Linked DNA regions of Homo sapiens: region 2 is linked to region 1. Evidence: promoter capture Hi-C in 16 types of primary human blood cells and fetal thymus (Javierre and others, 2016). All regions are on one chromosome and are shown on one strand. Each heading gives the region's core, a stretch centred on a gene start or on the middle of the fragment in contact. The rest is flanking DNA. Distances are from core to core; before and after follow the strand shown. Region 1 holds the start of ATP2B4 (ATPase plasma membrane Ca2+ transporting 4). Region 2 holds the start of LOC102723529 (a long non-coding RNA gene).

What was found. Contacts are between HindIII fragments. The CHiCAGO score rates a contact against its expected background, and 5 or more counts as called.
Region 2: a fragment that was not itself captured here is called in contact with the fragment with the promoter of ATP2B4 in region 1 in 2 of 17 cell types (M2 macrophages and M0 macrophages); the score reaches 8.6 in M2 macrophages.

What each region holds. Positions count from the first base shown.
Region 1 is chr1:203,622,915-203,630,698 of GRCh38, reverse strand. ATP2B4 (ATPase plasma membrane Ca2+ transporting 4) reads right to left here and starts at 3,867. Exons shown (of 21, transcript NM_001684.5): 1 at 3,480-3,867. RefSeq lists enhancers at 226-912, 3,126-3,998, 3,999-4,873 and silencers at 967-1,026, 1,087-1,166. The HindIII fragment of the contact is 13,651 bases long and covers 1-4,206 here.
Region 2 is chr1:203,369,827-203,377,610 of GRCh38, reverse strand. It overlaps LOC102723529 (a long non-coding RNA gene), which reads right to left and starts at 4,628. Exons shown (of 7, transcript XR_922438.3): 1 at 4,499-4,628; 2 at 2,882-3,033; 3 at 2,198-2,401. The HindIII fragment of the contact is 7,588 bases long and covers 814-7,784 here.

The sequences.
Region 1 (7,784 bases), core at 2,618-5,117:
GTAGGGAGCCTTGTCTGAGGGGCGCCCTTCGGGGGAAGAATTCAGATTGCCTGAAGAATCCTTCCAGAGAAGGATAGTTAAGACTCTGGGTGGGGTGTTCCCCTTCAAGGTCAAACACTTGGAGCTAATCTAACCTAAGCCAAACAGTTTTTTAGGGGTTTGGCTAACGGGGTTTGTCTTGGTCATTCTGGGGACTAAGAATGAACAAGATCCTTTTCTCTCTCCAAGGCTTAGTGGGTCTGCAATGCTCTGTCCTAGTGGATAGGGCTAATCCATGTCTTTGGGTGCTGGGTCCAAGGCCAGGAGCATTGAAAAAAAAAAAAAAAAAAGAGAGAGAGAGAGAGAGAGAGAAAAGGGGTTTCGGAGTTTTTGAGAGAAGCTAAATTCTTGAATAAGGGGCAGTTTCCGGTGGAAGGCTTGACCTGCTGACAGGTGGCAGGGAGCAGCCCAGACCCCGTTCCTCTCGGGACCTCCGGTTAGTGGGAGTGGGGAAGAGTAAAGCCTCCCGATATCCTGGCCCAGGACATCCAGCCCCTACACATCACCTTACCTCTTCCAGCCCCCACACCTTCGGCAAATTCTAACTGCTCTCCTTCTGCCCCTAACTGGGCCCTCTCATTTTGATTTTCTTCTGACAAAGACCACAGCAGTGTGACAAATCTGCCTAGCCACGCCCTGTCACCTCTACCGTGGAGAGCAGGCTTTCCATTGTGCAGAGGGGAAACTGGAGGCCAGACGGCGGGTTAGGAACTCGCTGGCGTCAGGCTGATTCCAAGGCCCCCAAACTGCCCGTGCTTCTCTCAACATGCCTTGACCCAGCGCTCTAACATCCCAGGCTCCGTGCTGGGCGCTGGGAGTCCCAGGGGTAAGACGGGCTGTGCTCCTTTGACTTGACCTTGAATCTAGAGACTTGGTGGTAAATGGAAGGGAGAAGGGTCTGAGGCTCGGCACAACCTGGGAGGCAGGAAGCCTCCGTTCGCCGCTCGGTTCGCATTCTCCACGGAGTTCTCAGACTACAGCAGAGCCCGGGAGGGTGGAGCCCAGCGGCGGAGAGGCTGGCGGGGCGGGGTCGCAGAGGCCGCGGAGAGCACAGGGGCCGCAGGGTTGCGCAGTCAATCCTGCCCCGAGCCCCGGGGGAAGGGCTGAGACTGCGGGAGCCGATTACCCCTTTGGCCGCGACCCCGGGCTCAGGCGACCCGGTGCGCGCTAAATAACGACCTCACGGAGAAGCCGTCCCCGAGCCCACCAACATCGACCCCTAATCAGATTACTGAAAATAGGAAGGCCGGCTGCAGGAATAGCTGCACTCTGAGCCTCCACGATGGGAGGCCGCGGCGAAAGCGGCGTGATTTTCGAGGTTGCACCTCAGCAAGATGGTGGCAGGGAGGATGGGACTCCCGAGGAGGAGTATAGAAATGGATCCCCTCCCTCCAGAACACGGGCATTAATTCTGTCTTGGGGGCCCTGCCCACTGGGGAAGGCCTCATTCCCTTCTCGAGCAGAACACAGGTAGGGAAGAGCTGTCTAGCCGAGGGGTGCAGTCAGATCAATCAACACCTCAAAGTGAAAATCAAATCGTTCCTGTTGCATCCCCAGCCCCGAGATGAGCTCTCCTCTAAGTGTTTTACTTCCTTCTCCCGCAGTGTCTCAGCTGTAGCCTTTACCACTCCTCCAAGCCCTGGGGCTGAAGGCAGGTGTTTCCTCTCCCCCAGCCTGATTCCCACAGATTTGTCTGCTTCAGGGTTTAGGGCCCACCTTCCAGAACACGCCTTACCAAGCTGCCACCATCCTTCCTGCCCCTCCCAGAGTCTGCTCCCCAAGCCACCACCCTCAGCCAAGGAGGGTAACTCAGCACATGGGCTAGGAGGCCTCTTCCACTCCCCTTCTTCCTAAACACTCCTGGCCCAGCCCCTCGTCACTCCCAGGCTGCTTTCCTGGGCCTGGCCCAGCCTGGAATGAGCCTGGTCTCCTTCCTCCAGGTAGAGGGCTCAGAGTGGAGGGGGCGTAGTAGGGCCTCCAATGGGAAGCGCGTGGAGAAGGGGCAGCTTGGGGAGGGGCTTAAGGAGCAGGGCCAGGGTCTCTAGACTCCCTGCCAGACTCCTCACACAGAGGAGGGGGGCGCTGCAGAATGGGATTTTGTTTCCCTTCCCTCCCCCACTCCTTTCCCCTCTCCACAGGGGCCTCAGTTGAGTACCGGCCTATTTCTTCATCTGACATTCCCCCTGCCCGGCCAGCAGGCGCCGGCATCACGTCTGCAAGTTATTGTTAAGTCCGGCAGGAATGCCCAGGAGGGACGTGCCTCTGGCAGCAGAGTGCCCACTCCCCTCCCAAGATGCGGCTGGCCACTCCTGCACCCTCCACACCCAGTTGGAGAAGAGCGGCGGGTACCCTCAGGGAGGTGGAGGAGTGTAAGAGGCCAGACTCGACTCGGGGAAGGATGCCAGCAGCCCCCTCTACCAAGAGCGAGCCAAGTATGTAAAAGAAAGAGAGAAGGGAGAGCAGGAAGGACAATCCCAGTCTTAATTCCTAGCTCTTCAGCAAGCCAAGGCAGTGGCCCGAGACGCTCAGGGATCCTTCCACAGATGCCTGTGGCCCACCCCATCTGCCAAACACTCACCAGCCCCACAGTGTCCAGCCTCGACATCGGAAACTTTTCAATTCACCCTTCTCCTTCCTCCCCTTTGGGACCAGAGATGTGTGGGGCGGTGCCCTCGGAGACACTCATACAGTTGGTTCTGGACGCTCACACACACTCAAACAACAGCGGTACGAGGTAACTCCCAGCTTTTTCCACAGCTAATTATACATGTGAAAGTCTGAGGATGTTTTGCAAGCAGCACAGAGAAACTGCTGAGGTTTCTCTGCAAAGCTAAAGAAATTTAATTCGTGCACTCTCCTTCCCCACTCCTGCCAACTTCTCCCAGCCCACCTCCACCCCATGGCCCCAAAGTGCCCCTCTCCTAGTTCCCGCTGCAGCCCCTCTTTCTGCTGAAGATTTCTTTGGTTCCTTTTTTTTTTTTTTTTCCATCTCTCTTTTGGGCTTTCGAGAAAGGGAACAGACACGGAAAATATTTTTGCAACAGTTTTCCATCCTGCGTCTCATTCCCAAGCCAAGGGGGGAAGGGGAGGGCAGGAACGGAATGGGTTGAGGGAGGGGAGATAAATATTTTTTCCAAGAGCTCAATTTTGGTGTCAAAAAGAGAACCCTCCATTACCCTACCCCATAGCCCAGGAATGACAAGAACTAGGAAAAGAGAGATAAATCACTTGTTCGACTATATGGTTTCTCAGAACTGATAATAGGTAAAACAGTATTTGACAAATCTGTGCACACACACATATTTTAAAAAAAATCCTCCAAACCCAGTCGCATGAAATATTCTAGAAAGAGGAAAATCGGGGAGTTTTAGAAGCCATTGAGAGAAAAGAAAGAAACAAAGTTTGCAAATCACAAGTCAATTCATTCTCTGCAAGCCTACCTCTCTTTCTAGCAAAGATCCAGGTTTCTTCAGGCGGGACTCTCCCTCCGGGTTTCCATGGATGAGGGTAGGGTGGGGTGACCACCCACCAGTCTCCCCAGTGTGGCAACCAAGCTAGAGACGCTGGCTTTGCTCTCTTGCCTTTCTGGCTAAGGCCGGGGAGTGGGCTGGGTCTCCTCCCCCTGCCCCTCCAATGGGAAGGACCTCTCAGGTTCCTGAAAGAAAAAGGGTGCAGGAGAGCTGGGCGGGTGTCTCTGATCTTGCTCTCTTCGGAGGGATGGTGCCCCACGAAGTTCGTGCCCCCCCTCCCAGCCCCCAGCTTTGGACGATCTCAACAGCAGAGCTTTCTTAAGAAAATGCTTGTCATGGCAACAGCTCTAGCTAACTCGGGCCAGACTCTTGCTCACCAGCTCTCCCCAAGCAGTGCGGGAAGAGAGAGGGGAGGAGCAGGAGCTGGAACAGAGGTGGGACTTGGCGCGAGGCCAAACCATTACTCTACTGTTAAGGTGGCCCGATTCTTGCGGTTACTTCCTGGTTCGTCTTAAGGGGGAATGGGAAAAGAAAGGGAAGCAATCCTCTCCCCTGTCGGCTTTCTTCCCCGCCCTTGCTCTCACTTGTTGAATAGAAAGCTGAGTAGGGGTGGAGGAGGGGTGAGGGTGGAGGTGGGGAGTGGATGTGGGTGGCGGTATTCAACGGTTGCTGGGCGGAGGGGAAAAAAAAGGAAGCTTGGGCAGGCGGCTGGCTTCCTGCAGCTCCTACGGGCCTCTCAACCCCTTACTCACTTAGATCCAGGACCCAGAAACCCGAGGTGTCTGTGGACACTTGTATGTCCCCTCCTACCTTCCTGCTCCTGTCTGAATAGGGGGTTCCTTGGAGAAGGAGAATAAATTGTTTTGTAAACACACACACACACACACACACACACACACACACACACACACACACACCCGTCCTCCCCTACACCTTATATACAGGTCACATTTTGTTCCCTCTTGTCCCTGTACCCACCAGAGGTATACTGACAGTGCATGAAAATAGCTGCTTACTTTTGAGTCCTGCTATGCGTGGGCTATGACACCAAAAGCTTTGTCTATATGGTATCGTTTCTAGTCCTCATTTAATCTTGAAAGGTACTTATTATTAACCTCATTTCCTAGTTGAGGGAATTGAAGATTGAGTGTCTGGCCCAAGGTTATACATCCGGCTAATGACAGAGCCAACGATTCAAGACCAAGTCAGACAGACTCCAAAGCCCGAGTACTTTCCTGTACTTTGTATCATACTCCGGCACATATTTCCGTTTTAATTTGCACACACTCAGACATCCATGCACACTTATACACAGCCTGTAAACAGTTAATCACACCCCCATACCCACACACCCACTAGCATTGTGCAACAGTGCCACCCATAGATTTTGCATAGAACTTTATGGCTTTCAAGCACAAACATGCACCATCAGCTGGTTCACACAACATATCTTCATTGACTGACAGATTCCCACACCTACCTCAGCAAACACACTCATGTTTATATGCTTATGGAAGGCACATTGACATATGTCTCACAGGTTATAGCTATGAGCTATGCTGTGAAGAAGGTGACTGGCCACTACTTCCCAACCTTTTAAACAGAGGGTTGGGAAAAGGCCTCTTTGATCCTATCATTCTAACCCAACAGCTCACACCACCCCCTGTCCTTCTTTGCTGTCATCTCTGCCCCCAAGAAGCAGAGCCACATGTGCATGGAGAAACAGGGTTGTGAAACGGGGTCCAGTTTCCCCCGTGTCCAACTAGCACCCTTCCCAATGTTCTCTCATTTGGGTCCTCTTTTTCCTCTTCATTTTCTTACCCTGCTATTTCTTTTTTCTTTATGGTTTTTTTTTTTTTTTTTGAGACGGAGTCTTGCTCTGTTGCCCAGGCTGGAGTGCAGTGGCGTGATCTCGGCTCACTGCAAGCTCCGCCTCCGGGGTTCACGCCATTCTCCTGCCTCAGCCTCCCGAGTAGCTGGGACTACAGGCCCCTGCCACCACGCCCGGCTAATTTTGTTTTTGTATTTTTAGTAGAGACGGGGTTTCACCATGTTAGCCAGAATGGTCTCGATCTCCTGACCTCATGATCTGCCCGCCTCGGCCTCCCAAAGTGCTGGGATTACAGGCGTGAGCCCCCGCACCCGGCCAGTAATGTTTTTAGACTGGTTGGGCTGGGCTCAGAACTCAGAGTTCATCAATGTGAGGCTGGAGATTGCCTGCTGTCATCTGAAAACAAAATCCAAAATAAGCCCTGGCTAGGCACAGTGGCTCATCCGTGTAATTCCAGTACTTTGGGAGGCTGAGGAGGGAGGATCACTTGGGGCCAGATTTCAAGACCAGCCTGGGCAACATAGCAAGACCCACCCCATCTCTACAAAAAAATTAAAAACAAGAGAAAAAAAATAAGCCCCTGCCTGTGCTTGTGCCTCTCCCTGCCAGCAGCCGAAGAAAGTTGCAGGGGTAAGGGGAGATTTTAGGGTCACCCTCTATGGGAACTATGGATTGTTTGGTCTTTTTTGTCTAGTGATTGACTGTCTGACACTCAAGGCACTTACAGGACACTAAAGGTGACCTTTGTTCTCATTTCAGCCTCTTGCAACTCCTCTAGTCACTCCCACCTTCCCAGGGCATTTCAAGAACAGTTAGTACCTTGTTAGATTCCTTCCTTCCTCCCTCCCTCTTCCCTCCCTCTTCCATTCCCTCCCTCTTCCCTTCCCTCCCTCTTCCCTTCCCTCCTTTTTCCCTCCCCTTCCCTCCTTTTCCCTCCCCTTCCCTTCCCTTCCCTTCCTTTCTCCCTTTCTTTCCCCTTCCTTCCTTCCATCTCCCTTCCTTCCTTCCCTCCCTCTACCTTCCTTCCTTCCTCCCTCCCTCTTTCTTTCTTTCTTTCTTTCTTTCTTTCTTTCTTTCTTTCTTTCTTTCTTTCTTTCTTTCTTTCCTTCCTTCCTTCCTTCCTTCCTTCTTTCTTTCTTTCTTTCTCTCTTTCTTTCTCTTTCTTTCTTTTTCTCTTCCTTTTTTCCGTCCTTCCTTCCTCTCTTCCTTCCTCCCTCCCTTCCCTCCTCCCTTTCCTTCCTTCCTTCCTTCTTCCTTCCTTCTTTTTTTTCATTATGGGTCTCCCTGTGTTGCCCAAGTTGCTTTTAAACTCCTGACCTCAAGTGATCCTCTCGCCTCAGCCTTCCTAGAAACTGGGACTACGGGCACACCCTACAATGCACAGCACCCTTGTTAGATTTTGGTAGACCCTAGCAAAATATCAGCTTCAGGAGCCCAAATCAATTGTTGGGGAAGACATGAGAAAGAAAGGAAAAGAAATGAATCAGCTTAACAGAGCTGCAGATTTAATGGCTTGTCAGGCTCCCTGCTGGATGGCAACAACATGACATTTTAGCACCAATGAGTGTCAGTTGCATCTTTATCATAAGAAAGCCAGTCTCTGAAATGACTGTTTAAATGTATTAAAGTATATTTTAAGCTCGTCTGCAGTGGCTGTGTGTGGAGGCATTGCCTAACTGTTCAGTAAACTTGTCTTGGGGGAATGACAATTTAGGCCAGATGTATGGTCCCAATAAAGAAGAAGTCTGCTTTGGCTGCCTGTTTTGTGGGGACTGGGAAATGATACCCTTTCATAGCTGGTTATTATTGGAAAGGTAAGATCTTCCCCTCAAGCTCCCTGGATTCCAGGGAGACAGGCTCTGCCAGGGAGGTGCTGTCAAAAGAGGCTCTGATGGCTGTCCCACATCTGGCTGGCTAGGATTCAGGGGCAGGCCAGGTTTATGACTTCCAGGGTGGCTGTAGATCCTCCCCTTGACCGGCTGTGGGGTTGTGGGATGAGAAAAAAGGAATCCCCCTCCCACTCCATTCCCACCCCAGCTCTGCTGCAGACAGGAGGGAGGGATGTCGGGGGGTGGGTCAATGTGACCCCAGAGGAGCCGAGGGGACCATAGCCTGATCTCTGTCACTGAGCTGACCACTGAGGCCTGTGTTTTCTGGAAAGCTAGAAGCCTCAGTGCTTCGCTTCTTGCAGCGGCAGGTTTGAGGTCTAGAACGGGTAAAAATAAATCTATCCATAAAAATAACCACTAGATGTGGGAAAATGGAGTTGGCCCCCCTGGGGCAAGAAGGAGGACACTGCCTCTGGCATCAGAAGTTCATAGTCTGCCTGTTCTGCTCAGCTCTGAGCAGTCCTGTTTCCCTCTTCTCCCTGCTGTACTCTTGACTTTACAGGTTCCTGTTCTTTAGATCTAGCCTGGCTCTCCTCAGCCTCCTGAACTCCCCAT
Region 2 (7,784 bases), core at 3,358-5,857, 250 kb after region 1:
CAGAAAAACTGAAAAATAATAGAGTCAAAGAGATCTTATAACCAGTAAGACAGAAAAGAGAAATCACCTGCAAAATAATGGCATAGATTTATTGTATAATCCCCAAGAGTAATAACGGAAGCTCGAAGGAAGTGGAACCATATTGAGAGAAAGAAAAAACAAACCTCTCAACCTGAAATTGTGTACCTAGAAAAATCTGTTCTTCCTAAAGGAGGGTGAAATAAAGATATATTCATAACTCCAGGATTCCAGAACTCATGCTTTTTCCTCTACATTATACTGTTGCTACCAGTTCTCAGATAGTTTTAGATCTGAAGTTTTATAGTCAGTCATACTTCATTTTATTGTACTTTCCTTTATTGCACTTTGCAGACATGACTTTTTAAAAAACTTGAAGGTCGGTGACGACCCTGTGTCAAACAAATCTATTGGTGCCATCTTTCCAACAGCATGTGGCCACTTCCTGTCTCTGTGTCACATCTTGGTAATTCTCATATTATTTCGAACATTTTTATTATTATTATGCCTGTTATGGTGACCTGTGATCAGTGATCTCTGATGCTACTACTGTAATTGTTTTGTAGTATCATGAACCGCACCCACGTAAGATGGCAAACTCAATGGATAAATGTGTGTGTTCTGACTGCTCCCACCAGCTTTCCCCCATCTCTCTTCTTCTCCTTGGGCCTCCCTATTCCCTAAGACACACAACATTGAAATTAAGCCAATTAATAAACTTAGGATAGCCTCTAAGTGTTCAAGTGAAAGAGTCATGTCTCTCACTTTACATGAAAAGCTAGAAACTGTTAAGCTTAGTGAGGAAGGTATGTCCAAAGCTGAGATAGGCTGAATGCTAGGCCTCTTGTGCCAAACAGCCAAGTTTTGAATGCAAAGGAAAAGCTCTTGAAGAAAATTAAAAGTGCTATTCCAGTGAACACATGAATGATAAGAAAGAAAACAGCCTTACTCCTGATAGAAAGTTTTAGTGGTCTGGATAGATCAAACCAGCCACAATACTCCCTTGAGCCAAATCGTAATTCAGAGCAAGGCCCTAACTCTCTTCAATCCCATAGAAGAGGCTGAGAGAGGTCAGGAAGCTGCAGAAGCTAGCAGATGTTGGTTCATTAGGTTTAAGGAAAGAAGTCATCTCCATAACATAAAAGTACAAGGTGCAGCAACAAATGCTGATGTAGACACTACAGCAAGTTATCTAGAAGATCTAGCTAAGGTAACTTATGAAGGTGACTACACTAAACAACAGCTTTTCAATGTAGATAAAACAGGCTTCTTTAAAGAAGAAAATGCCATCTAAGACTTTCATAGCTAGAGAGGAGAAGTCAATGCCTGGCTTCAAAGTTTCAGAGGATAGGCTGACTCTCATGTTAGGGGCTAATGCAGCTGGTGGCTTTAAGTTGTAGCCAATGCTCATTTACCATTTTGAAAACTCTAAGGAATTATGCGGCTAGGAGCAGTGGCTCATGCCTGTAATCCCAGCTCTTTGAGAAGCTGAGATGGGAGAATCACTTGAGCCCAGGTGTTCAAGACCAGCCTGGGCAACAGAGCCAGACCCCATCTCTACAAAATTAAAAAAAAAAAAAATTAGCCAGGTGTGATGGTGTGTACCTGTAGCTGCAGCTATTTTGGAGGCTAAAGCAGGAAGATTTCTTGGGACCAAGGGTTCAAGGCCGTAGGGAACTATGATTTTGCCACTGCACTCCAGCCTGGGCAGCAGAGTGAGACCCTATATACTCTGCCTATGCTCTATAAATAGGGCAACAAAGCCTGGATGACAGCGCATCTGTTTCCAATATGGTTTATGAACTATTTTAAGTCCACTATCGAGCCATACTGTTCAGAAAAAAAGATTCCTTTCAAAATATTACTGCTCGTTGACAATAATCCTGGCCACCCAAGAGTTCTGATGGAGACGCACAAGGAGATGAATGTTTTCATGCCTGCTAACACAACATCCATTCTGAAGCCCATGGATTAAGGAATAATTTCAACTTTCAAGTCTTATGATGTAAGAAATACATTTTGTAAGGCTATAGCTGCCATAGATAATGATTCCTCTGATGAATCTGGGCAAAGTAAGTTGAAAACCTTCTGGAAGGGATTCACCATTCTAGATGCCATTAAGAACAATCAAGGTCAAAATATCAACATTAATAGGAATTTGGAAGAAGTTTATTCTCACCTTCATGGATTACTTTGAGGGGTTCAAGACTTCAGTTGAGGAAGTCATTGCAGATGTCGTGGAAATAGCAAGAGAACTAAAGAGAACTAAAAATAGGGCCTGAAGATGGAACTGAACTGCTGAAATCTCATGATGAGGAGTTGTAGCTTCTGGATGAGCAAAGAAAGTGGCTTCTTAAGATAAAATCTACTCCTGGTGAAGATGCTGTGAACATTGTTGAAGTGACAACAAAAGATTTAGAATATTACATAAACATAGTTGATAAAGCAGTAGTAGAGCTGAAGATTGACTCCAATTTTGAAACAAGTTCCACTCTGGGTAAAATGCTATCAAACAGCATCACATGCTACAGAGAAATCTTTCATGAAAGGAAGAGTCAATCAATGTGGCAAACTTCATTGTCATCTTATTTTAAGAAATTGCCACAGCCACTTCAGTCTTCAGTGACCACCACCCTGATCAGTCAGCAGCCATCAACATGAGTCAAGACCCTCCACTTGCAAAAAGGTTATGACTTGCTGAAGCCTCAGATGTTCATTAGCATTTTTATCAATAAAGCATTTTTAAATTAAGGTATGTACAATGTTTTTTAGACATAATGCTATTGCACACTTAATAGACCCTAGTATAGTATAGACATAATTTTTATATGCACTAGGGAACCAAAAAATTCATGTGACTCACTTGATTGAGATATTCACTGTTGCAGTGGTCTGGAACGGAACCTGCAATATCTCCGAAGTATGCTTATATTACAATAATTACCTTCCAGGAAATTCTTCTTGCTTCCTCTGTTTCCTCCTGCCTCCAATATTCCTTTTAAGGTCAGAGCATTTCTAGGGGGAAAAAATGCCATTTTCATTGGCTTGTATTTAAGGGAGCTCCAGGGTCTAATTCTTTGGAAGTTGTCCTTCATAAAAGGTTCTGAGGAATCAAAACAGCACTGCAGACTGTCACTGTACCCAGTGACAGTCTACAGACAAGAGGGGTGGCGGGCGCAAGCACGGAGCATACCGTGAAGGCCCTGGAACCCTTTCTAGAAATCTTCTGTGCTCCCTTAGAGACCACAGCTTGGTAAACCCTGCACCTTTAAATATCATTTTATTAGAGTGAACAGAGCCTGCAGGCACAGCATTAATCAACTAAGTGTTCCCTTCAGGCCTGGGAGCTGGCGTAGTTTTGCCTTCCCTTTGTCCCAAGGTCAGAAATTACTTTGCACTTCACTTGGCTCAATTTCCCTTTGGATTACCACTAAGATAGCTTTTAACTAAAGGTTTTCTCTCCCTTGAAATGCACCAGACTCTCAGCTAAGACTGCTGGCCTCAGATCACAAATTCCTCCTCCTTTCCCTCCCCTGAGAACTAACTCTGAAGGGTGATTGATTTACTTAACCTTTGTTGGTACAAATATGAAAGGCAGCTGCCTCTCTTCAGCTAACATTTGAACCAGTTTATGTTATTTCTCTCTGTGAGCTGGCATTTCTTAAAGGTCTTCTCTGACCTTACTCCAAAAAAGTGGTAAAGCCCTCCTTACCACTGGCAGAAAATGGGAGGAAATACAGAAGGGAAAAGGGGGCCAAAGTGGAGAGGTGGTGAAGAGGAAGGAGAGTGGTCAGCAGCGTTGGCATTCAGGAGACCGGAGGTGCCAGTAGAAGAGCTGCAGAGTCCCTCCTAGAGTCTGTGCCTCAGCCTCCCCAGGGGTCCCCTTTCCTTCTTCCCTTTCTCCTCCCCACTCTGGGATGGCCTATGCCTCCACTCTGCCCCCAGTCCTCTTCTTTTTCCTGGACCCCAGGACAAGAGAGGACTTTCCCCCTGGGGTCTAAGACTGCCATATTGTTCCCCCTCCAACCTTAATCAAGGTCTCTCAGCCATGGGCCTCTGCAAGTCCTACCCTTCCACCTTGCGTTAGTTAAGATAACACTAACTGCTATAATAAACCTAAAACTCTCTATGGATCAAATATGACAGTAATCTAGTTTTTGGCCAGGCATGGTGGTTCACGCCTGTAATCCCAGCACTTTGGGAGGCTGAGGTGGGAGGATCTCTCGAGCCCAGGAATTTGAAACCAGCCTAGGCAACATAGTGAGTCGAAAGAAGGAAGGGAGGAAGGAAGGAAGGAAGGAAGGAAGGAAGGAAGGAAGGAAGGAAGGAAGGAAGGAAGGAAGGGAGAAAGGAAGGAAGGAGAAAGGAAGGAAGAAAGGAAGGAAAAGAAAGAGAGAGAGAAAGGAAGGAAGGAAGGAGAGAAAAGAAAGAAGGAAGGAAGGAAGGAGGGAAGGAAGGAAAGAAGGTATTTTTTGCTCACATAAAGTCCAAAATGGGTCTTCCTGACTGGCAGGCAGCTCTCCTCTGAACAGTGATCTGTATCTGGGTTCCTTCTATTCTATGGTTCCACCCTCTTCATCCACTGGCTCCCAAAGTGGGAGAGGAAAATCGCAAAGGACTGTGTGGGGTAGACTTACGCACCAGGCCTGGAAGAGGCCCGTGGCTTCTCCTCACATTCCATTGGCTGGAGCCCAGTCAAATGGCCACAAGGGAGGCTGGGAAATGTAGGGTAGCTGTGTTCCCAGGAAGAAGAGGAGCCAGTCTCTGCTCACCCCTGCCTCTTTCTTACTTTCCTATTTTGCCTGTGGTGAAGATATCTTCACCAGATATCTGTTAGGGCTGGTTTTTTAATATGTGGTGAAGCTCAGCTGCTTCGCTTATTTTTCCAGACGGGGATGCCCACTAAGTGTTACCTTCACATCAATCCCCAAACATGGTGGTGGCTCCCTCAGGCACTCCATTGAGAAGCATTTGCAGCCTCTCTGGGTCTTGAGTGCCAGGATTGACTGATGCAGAGTGGGTGTGGCGGCAAGGGTACCATTTTTTGGCCATCTTGCTCAAACAGCATTTTGGGGGTTTATTTCCCCAGCGGCTGTGTGATCCCAATGGTTGGGGCCATCATCCCAGAGGCCCATCACTTTTTTTTTTTTTTTTTTTGAGACAGAGTCTTCATTTTGTCACCCAGGCTGGAGTGCAATGGCGTGATCTTGGCTCACCACAACCTCCACCTCCCAGGTTCAAGCGATTCTTCTGCCTCAGCCTCCCGAGTAGCTGGGATTACAGGCACCAGCCACCACACCTGGCTAATTTTTGTATTTTTAGTAGAGATGGGGTTTCACCATGTTGGCCAGGCTGGTCTCGAACTCCTGACCTCAGGTGATCCACCTACCTTGGCCTCCCAAAGCCCAGCCGGCTCATCATTTTTTTTTTTTTTAAACTTGAGACAGAGTCTTGCTCTGTTGCCCAGGCTGGAGTGCAGTGGTGCAATCTCAGCTCACTACAACCTCCACCTCCTGGGTTCAAGTGATTCTCCTGCCTCAGCCTCCCCAGTAGCTGGGATCTCAGCTCACTGCAACCTCTGCCTCCTGAGTTCAAGCGATTCTCCTGCCTCAGCTTCCCAAGTAGCTGGGATTACAGGCATGCACCACAACATCTGGCTAATTTTTTGTATTTTTAGTAGAGACGAGGTTTCACCATGTTGGCCAGGCTGGTCTCGAACTGCTGACCTTGTGATCCACACACTTTGGTCTCCCAAAGTGCTGGGATTACAGGCATCAGCCACTGCACCTGTCCCCATCACTTTTATATCACTTCCTTTCAGTGCTCCCAGGATGATACACCCTTCTTTTCATTTCACCACTTTAACCCCTCTGGGCCAGTCTCTGTGTTCTAGTTAACCTCAGCAACTTGCAGAGCAGAACTGACTTGTATAAGGCTAATTGGAGAGGAGGAGCAGATTATGAAAGGCCTACAAAAACAGCCCTGTGGCCCAGGAGACATGAAGCAGTGCAGTGGACAGCATGATGCAGGAAGCAACCTGCTGGGGTGAACAAGGAAGACTGTGGACCTGTGGCAGAGGCTGAGGGCAAAGACGGCAGCCAAAGCCCTGGGCCAGAAGGTGGTGCAGGTGTTGCCAAAGTGACAAAGAAATTTGGCCTGGAGCTCCCTTCTCTACACCCTGCCCTCCCTCAGTTCCACTGTAGCTAGAGCGCTGGAAGCTGAGTTGCGGTGTCAAGCACATGTGGGCATTTGTGCCTGCCCACCTACTCACACCCCTATGGGGATCTTCATCATTGGCACTGACCCCTTCTCCATTATACCAGATTGTCCACGTCCCTTCCTGATGGCTAACAAGATGCAAATACATTCACATCCCTCTCCCAGGTGTGCTTCTCTAAGGTAACAAAGTCCTTCAGTTAATCCAGCCCTGAGGGACAGGAGAGATAGGGCAAGATCTTCAAGTCCCTAAATCTGAAAGGGAAACAAATGGCCCAACACTGCAGTCCTTGGTGTTAATGAGAAAGACCTGGAGAGACCGTTAAAATTACAGACTCCTGGGCCCCTATGCAGAACCACTGAATGCGAATCTCCAGAGGCAGAGTCTCCTTGGCTGCCTCAGTGGCACCACAGGGAATCCAGATGCACACCAAAGTTTGAGAACTACTGGCTTCAGGAGCCAGTTCTACAGAGTCTGAAATAAGAGATGCTCCGGAGAGAACCCAAGGTATCGTAATTCTGTAACATTAGCAATTGAAATGGGATTAGTAAAGATTGCTAGCACTTACTAACCATTTCTGATGTGCAGGTGCTATTCCTGTGTGCTGTACACGGCTTATTTCCTTCTCACGGTAACCTTACGAAGTAGGTTCTGCTGCTGTCTTCATTATATAGAATAGGAAACAGAGGCACAGAGAGGGTGTTCTAAGATCACATAGCTAGTAAGTAGCAAAGCCTAATTTGATCTCAGAAAGTCTTACTCCAAAGTCTCTGCTCTTAACCATTATGCCATGCTGTCACCCTTTCGCCTCTCTTATTAGGTGTGAGAGTTGAAAGGGGAGAGGTGGTCTAAAGAAGAACTGAGAGGAGGATAAGATAGCTGAGCTCCTTCTTTCCCACCTACCACCAATCCCCTCCACACTAAGAGGAGGATAATGAAGGGTTTCAGAGAAGAGATTATGAGAAAGAAAGGCCTCTATCATTTGCATTTCAGTCTGGTCACTTAAGTAATAACATCCCGCGGGTGCCTCCATGCTTCCCAGGAATGGCAAAGTCTGTTCCCTTTGTCTGCCATAATTATTTCTCTTCATTAACACCTGACAAGGTCCTACTGACCCTTCAAGTCTCCCTGGGAAGCCTTAGATAACTCTCCACCCTAACAGAGTCTATCATGACTTTTTATCTTCTTTTGCAATTATAGGTGTTCACATCTTCCTCTAGTCATTGTTCCTTGAAATCAGGGCTCCACAGCCCTGTTTATCATTGTAGTCCCCATGCTTGGCACATAAGAGGCACTCAATAAATCTTGTGGGAAAAAATGAATGAGGGAACGAAACATTTATTGAGCACATACTATGTGCCAGACGCTGCAAGACCTTATGGATCTTTGAAGATGTGTGGACATAGTTCCTGCTCACAAAGAATGTACAATCTTGTTAGGAGGAACAGATGTACCCCCAAGAAGAGTGAGACCTGGAGGCATCACTGGCCTCCCATGTCACTGTAGGTCAGTCACTGCCCTGCTTCCTCTTTTCCTCCTGGTACAAAGG